Linked DNA regions of Homo sapiens: region 1 is linked to region 2. The links are contacts of gene promoters, found by promoter capture Hi-C in human tissues and cell types (Jung and others, 2019). All regions are on one chromosome and are shown on one strand. Each heading gives the region's core, a stretch centred on a gene start or on the middle of the fragment in contact. The rest is flanking DNA. Distances are from core to core; before and after follow the strand shown. Region 1 overlaps GALNT6 (polypeptide N-acetylgalactosaminyltransferase 6). Region 2 holds the start of LETMD1 (LETM1 domain containing 1).

Region 1 (3,422 bases), core at 910-3,409, 340 kb before region 2:
AACCTCCACGGGTATGAGTGTGGTAAACAGAGTAGTGGTCTAGGAGTTGAGAGATCGGGTTCTACTCCTGGGAGCCACTAGCTGTGTGTTGCTAGAGAAGTCACCTAACCATTCTGGCCTCGCCGTTGATAAAATGAGGGTGTTAGACCCACAGACAGACCTAGTCAAAACAGCAAGCTAATGTGTAATGGCAGAATATCCTGTAAGTCAAGTATTTCTTGCAGTAAGTTCATTCAGAACATCATTTAGTGAAGCCAGTGCTCCACATTTAACCCTTCCAACCTCATCTCATTTAACAAGAGTTTGTGGAACTAGCCAGGCCTGATGGCACGCACCTCTGTATTCCCAGCTACTCAGGAGGCTGAGATAGGAGGATTGTTTGAGCCTGGGAGGTCGAGGCTGCAGAAAGCTGTGTTCATGCCACTACACTTCAGCCTGGGTGACAGAGTGAGACCCTGTCTCCAAGAGAAAAAAAAAAAGTTTATGGAACACCTGCTATATGTAAAACTTGTGCTAGACTTTGTAGGTGATAAAAAGCTGGAAATGGCATGGCCTCTCTGGTCCAGGAGTCCATAAACACAGGGTGGGCTGTGATGAGACTGGAGTACAAATAAAAATCGGGTGCTAAGGGGGCAAAGCAGGGAAGAGATGAATTCTGCTGGGAGATCTGAGAAGGCTTTTTGGAGGGGGGCTAGAATATAAACTGTGGGGTTTGGACTGTGTCACTGGCTTTCAAACTTCTATGACTTGACCAAAGTGAGAAATATACTTTATAGCGAGACCCGGTACCTGTGTATATGTGACAGGGCATCCCAAAAATCTTAGGGCAGTTTTATAATTTAATCACATTACAAGCATAAATTCTGCAAACCATAAAAACTATCATTTGAAAATGGAATCATTTAAACTTCTTTTGTCTTTAGTTGTATGAATTTTGAATAACAAATTTATCATTTTAATTTTGTATCAGGCAGTGTGTATCTTTAATAGACTGAAACAAACATTAAAATAAAAGTTTACTTTTCAGGCTGGACATGATGGCTCACACCTGTAATCCCAGCACTTTGGGAGGTCAAGGCAGGAGGATTGCTTCGGCCTAGGAGTTGAAGACCAGCCTGGGCAGCATAGTGAGACCCCCATCTCTACCAAAAAATAAAAATTAGCCGGTCTTGATGACACACACCTATGGTCCCAGCTACTCCAGAGGCTGAGGTAGGAGGATCCTTTGAGCCCAGGAGGTCAAGGCTGCAGTGAGCTGAGATTGCACCACTGCACTCCAGCTTAAGGAACAGAATGAGACCCTGTCTCCAAAAAAAAAGAAAGAAAGAAAAAACGAATACTTGCCTGTGTTACATGTGATACATGATGCACTTTGATATTTTCTTTTCATTCTATTCTGGGTTTTTAAAATTTATTTATTTTTATTTTTTGAGACAGGGTCTCGCTCTATTGCCTAGGTTGTAGTGCAGTGGCATGATCATAACTAACTACAGCCTCAACCTCCTGGGCTCAAGCAATCCTCCAGCATCAGCCTCTCAAGTAGCTGAGATTACAGGCCTATGCCACCACACCCAGCTAACTGGTCTCTTTTTGCTAATTGGTCTTTTTTTTTTTTTTTTTTTTGAGACAGAGTCTTGCTCTGTCACCCAGGCTGGAGTACGGTGGTGCTATTTCTGCTTACTGCAACCTCCAGCTCCTAGGTTCAATCAACTCTCCTGCCTCTGTCTCCTGAGTAGTTGGGATTACAGGCACATGCCACCATGCCTGGCTAATTTTTGTATTTTTAGTAGAGAAGGGGTTTCACCATGTTGGCCAGGTTGGTCTTGAACTCCTGGCCTAAAGTGATCTGCCCACCATGGCCTCCCAAAGTGCTGGGATTTCAGGTGTGAGCCACTGTGCCTGGTCCTAACTGGTCTTTTAAAGAAATTTTTGAATGCTAATTTGCAACACTCTGAATTTATTTTATAATATCACAGTGGATTGTAATCAGCAGTTTGATACAAGCTGGGCTGGGTAAAGCCTCAGTTCCTTACACCAGTGAGAGAAGGTAAGTTTGTGTTCTGGCCGGTGGGGCCAGGGAAGCAAATCCCATTTGTTCAATCTAGGCAGGCTTTTCAGAGAGGATTTCTGGCATCATCTCGGGATCAAAGCCAAGGATGGTCCAAAGAGTTGCAGGCCCAAGGGTAGCTGGAGGAAAAAGACTTGGGAAGAAGTGCTGAGCCACAGCGAGAGGGAAATGAGTGGATGGGGGCTGCGGGCACACTTGCCAGGAAAGCAGGAGGCCAGGTGTGGGAGCCCAAAGGTGAGGGAGATATACAAGACACCAGGGGCGGATCTCGTGAAGCTTTGTACTTGAAACAATAGCAAAGAATAGCAGCTATTCTTTCTCCAAGGCTGGTGGAGGGGCGACCTCCACGACCTTGCTAACCATACTTCTGGGAATCATCTCCTACACAGGGAGCAGAAATCCTTAACCCCAAAGTCCTGTGGCTTGCACTAGATTCTGTGTCTCTTCTAAGGGACTCTTCCTGTTGCCCTCATGCTAAGCAAACAAACTAGAGAATGAGTGCCTCACCACCAAGGCTAATCCCAGGTGTCTCATTTCGGTTCAGGATGTGGTTAGTACCTTGAGGAACTGTAGGTTTGAGAGAGAAAGCTTCAGGCAGCCAGATGGGATTGAGAGATTAGATGCCTAGGAAGAGCTCAATTTAACCCTATATTTCTTTCTCCAGGGAAAATAAAAGAAGCAAAAACAGGCCCTGCTGTGAGGGACCACGAGGCAGTGCCAGGATGAAAGAGTTGGAGTAACCTAGGTGATTCTGAGTGAATCAGTCAGGAGGCCTTCCTGGAGGGGGTGAGTCTTGAGCACTGGCAACAGTTAGTAACTACAATCTTACCATGCCTTTGTTTCTAACTGTGCTCCCTCTTTCTTGCTGGAGTGGGAAGGTAGATGGAAAGTAGCAGGGAAGACGAAGCCTGCAGGACGGTTCAAAGCTGTCATGGCAAACACTCCCCCATTCTGCAGGCCTCTGTGTGGGCTTAGCCGGGACAGTTCCAGAACTGATGAGGTGTCTAGCTCAAGCAAATCCCCCTGTGCTAGCCCCAGCATAGCTCAACCTCTGTGACAAGAAACTCCTGCTACACTGAATCCCCATTTCCTCCCCGAAGCCTTCCTCAAACCCACAGGGAACTCTACCTCTCTCAGCTTAGCTCTTACTGTCTGTGCTATTCTGCTTTAATTTTATTCATTTTTGAATAAGTAATATAGTCAGGGTTCAAAGTACAAAAGAGTATTCAGTGAAAGGTCCTTTTCCTGCTCCTGAATCTCCCCTGGTCAGGTGCTTCCTTCACCTGGTCAGTGCTATCAGTTCTCGTTCTCCAATAAGATTTTCAAATCCCTTGGGGAAAGGAATTGAGCCTTT
Region 2 (3,383 bases), core at 601-3,100:
GATCCTATTTATCTACATGAAAACAGAAAAAGCAGCCAATTTTATCTCTACAAATTAAGGATAAGTAATTTTTCAAGTCCATGAAGCTAGTAATAATTATGATAATGTTCAGATTTGACAATGTAGTTTATTATAGTGTTATGATAAAAGCATAGAGCATATTATAGATTTGGTGCAAAAGCAATTGTGGTTTTTGCCACTGAAAGCCAAAAGCCGCAATTACTTTTGCACCAACTTATAATACTGTTAGGTAACATTTAGATGAAAATAAGTTAACATTTACTTGGCACTTACTAGGGATCAGGACCTGTTCTAGGTACTTTACATGTATCAATTTTTAAAGTCTTCACAATCATGTGATAAATAGGTAGGTTCCATTACTCCCATTTTACACATAAGAAAACCAAGGAAAGAGGGGTTAATTAATTAGTCCAATCGCACAGTGACGAACTGGGATTTGAATCAGGCAATCTGGCTCCAGAGTAGACACTTGACACGATACATATCTTCTCCTAGTAACTAAGGATCTCTGATTTGAAACAAAACATTTAGAAACCAAGTATTATGTAGGGCTATTGCCACTACAACATACTACCTAATATAGATTCATAACAAGGGTTAGACCTCATTTTCCTATGGGTAAGTCAACTGATACATCACAGGGCAGGTCTATACAGCCACAGATCCCTGCCGTGTGCAAGGCAAAAAATTTCTACTATAGCCAGGTGTGTGGTTAAGAAAGTACGAGAACATACCTATATTCTCCCTCCCTCATGTTGCTGTCATAAGTTGTTTCTCATAACATCTTTCTAGAAACATTCTCAAGAAGTGCTAATTTATAGGAATTAGTTTAAGGCGCAGGCATTTATGAAATATAAGATATCTCGGCTCACATCCCCATAGCAGAACCTGCAAATGATCTTATTTATGCTAACTCTTTGACCCTGCCCAAGAGCTGATTCCGGAATTTCTATTGTAGTTTCGTTTTTACCTTTCATGAAGATTGTGTACAGGACATAGAAGCGGGGGAAATGACGACCCAAGAAACGATGGTATTTCCCATTAATCGCTTTTGTCTTGGTTACCACATAAGACATCAAGTTCTTCACATCTGCCTTTGGAGAAAGGTGAAGCTTTGAAGACCTACAAGGAAGATCAAAGAGACTATCTGGGAATCAGTCCTAGAAGCTCCCTCACGCCTTGAGTCCCTAATGTAAAGCAGGAGTCTCGGAGATTGTATCCCAAGGCTTGACACTTCTGAAATCCAAGGAAGGTCTTGGGGTCAAGAAGAGATAGGCAATCAGACTGTGAAACACAAATCAGGCAAAGGCCAGGCAGGAAAGTAACTCAGGGTATGCCTCTGGAGAGAGCGCAATGCCTGTGGGACAATTTGAACTGCAGGCTAAGTCAGAAAGAGGTGGAATCGAGATAGCAGCGGTAAAACCTGAGCCGAAAAAGTGAGGCTGAAAGATGAGCTCAGGACACGCGGGGAAACCAGACAATATGGGGCACTGAGAGTACAGAGGGTCAGGAAGCCGGGTCACTAGTGGGGATCGGAGTTTGAATCCTGAACAGAAGAATAAAAATTCCAGGGCCAAGGCGTGGAACTCTGAGAATTAAGAGACAGAATGCAAGCAAGGTTGAGACACTGAAAGAGCCTGGACGTCAAAAATGCTTTTCTCGCTACAGGTCCCTCACCGAGGGGCCCCCCAAGCCAGGCCAGAGCGACCAAGTTGCAGCCTCCGGGTGACAAAATGTCCAGGGGTGACTGCCGAGCCCCACACAGCCGACCGAGCCCAGCACACCCTGGAGAGCGCCATCTTCACAGCGAGAGAAGCGGGAGAGAAGAGGTTGTCTTTGGGTCAAAGTTAACCGTACGTCGCGTTCGTTCGAAGACGCATGCGTCTTTTCTGAGCGCTGATTGGTAGCCATAGCCTGCTTGGCTCCAGCACAAGCCAGGAGAGGGAAGGACTCAAAGACTAAGTGCGGAAGGAGGGCCAGGATTGGACACAGCAGTACTTCCAGGTTTAAAGGCGCCGGAAACAGGGTGTCCCAGAGGGAGCGAGTTCTTATGCCACTGGTGTGGGTTTGCGACGCGGAGGGCACCCTGTCCTTGAGGCGCCCAGTGACCCTCCGCGATTCCTTAGGGCCTCAGGGCTTCCCAGCGCCGCCCTTGCCCTCTGCCTGGACTCGGGGCGTCGGAGCCTCGACTGTTAGGTAGCAGATGTCAGTTTGCCAGTGCCTGGGGCTAGGAGGACCCGCGGCGCCCTCTAATGGTGCCGGCGTGGATAGGCCGGGAACTGTCCACTTTCCAGTCAGTCTGGCGGCGAAGGTTGGAGGCCTGGGAGCGGCCCCTGTGCGGACTGAGTACACTTTTTCCTCTCTTTGTCGTTTCCAGAACTAAGTTTGTGGGAAAATGGTTTTCGTTAAGCACCTACCGAAGACCAAGCTCTGTCTCAACTTAAATGTTACTATTCTGAGAGGATTTCTGTGACCACCCTATCTGAAGCAGTGCCGGCGAAAAGGACACACTTCACACTTATTCTCATGTTACTCTGTTTTGTTTTGTTTTGTTGTTTTGTTTTTGTGACAGTTTTGCTCTGTCGCCCCGGCTGGAGTGCAGTGGCGCGATCTTGGCTCACTGCAGCCTCCGCCTCCCGGGTTCAAGCGATTCTCCTGCCTCAGCCTCCCGAGTATCTGGGATTACAGGCGTCCGCCACCACGCCCGGCTAATTTTTGTATTTTTAGTAGAGACGGGATCTCACTATGTTGGTCAGGCTGGTCTTCAACTCCTGGCCTCAAGTGATCCGCCAGCCTTGGCCTCCCAAAGTGCTGGGATTACAGGCGTGAGCCACTGCACCCGGCCTTGTATTTTCTTTGTAGCATCTGTCACTTACAGTGTTTATGTATTTGTGTCCTTGTTTGACAGCTCCCTGAACTAGAATGAGGGTAAGCATCTTCTCTGCCTTGTTCATTGCTGCACCTCCAACACTAGGTGCCTTACTTAGCACATAGTAGGTGTTCAGTAAACATGTTTGAATAGATTCATACTTGAAACTAAGAAGGATTCCCAGAAGTGGTACTTAACTGCCTCCAAGAATTAACAGTCCTCTTGGATATATATGAATATTTATTCTTCATGGAAGGTGGTAGAGCATCCCATGTGGGTTCCCTGGATATAGGTTCAATCTTGGCATTGACGTTTGTTTTAGTGAATGTTACCTTGGATATGTCACTTTAGCTCTGAGTTTATTTCCCTTATAATAGTACCTACTTTATAAGAAATCTTTGAGGATCCAAAGAGAATACAGCTGTGAAAGCTCCCACATCTGTATAATGCTTTATGGGTCACAGAGCTTTATATTAGCACAGGTTATTAATGA

What was found. The method cuts DNA at HindIII sites, captures the fragments that hold promoters and counts their contacts. A contact is called where the count stands out against the background at its distance.
Region 1: a contact is called between a fragment that was not itself captured here and the fragment with the promoter of LETMD1 in region 2, in 1 of the 25 tissues and cell types used here (spleen).

What each region holds. Positions count from the first base shown.
Region 1 is chr12:51,382,893-51,386,314 of GRCh38, reverse strand. All of the region lies in intron 2 of GALNT6 (polypeptide N-acetylgalactosaminyltransferase 6), which reads left to right. Among named protein-coding and RNA genes, the nearest start is that of GALNT6, 6.8 kb to the left of the region's middle. The HindIII fragment of the contact is 3,077 bases long and covers 621-3,422 here.
Region 2 is chr12:51,046,794-51,050,176 of GRCh38, reverse strand. It overlaps LETMD1 (LETM1 domain containing 1), which reads right to left and starts at 1,850. Exons shown (of 9, transcript NM_015416.5): 1 at 1,699-1,850; 2 at 992-1,143. The coding sequence starts at 1,820. RefSeq lists enhancers at 1,067-1,605, 1,806-1,855, 1,606-2,144, 1,966-2,235, 2,326-2,405 and 1 more. The HindIII fragment of the contact is 9,846 bases long and covers 1-3,383 here.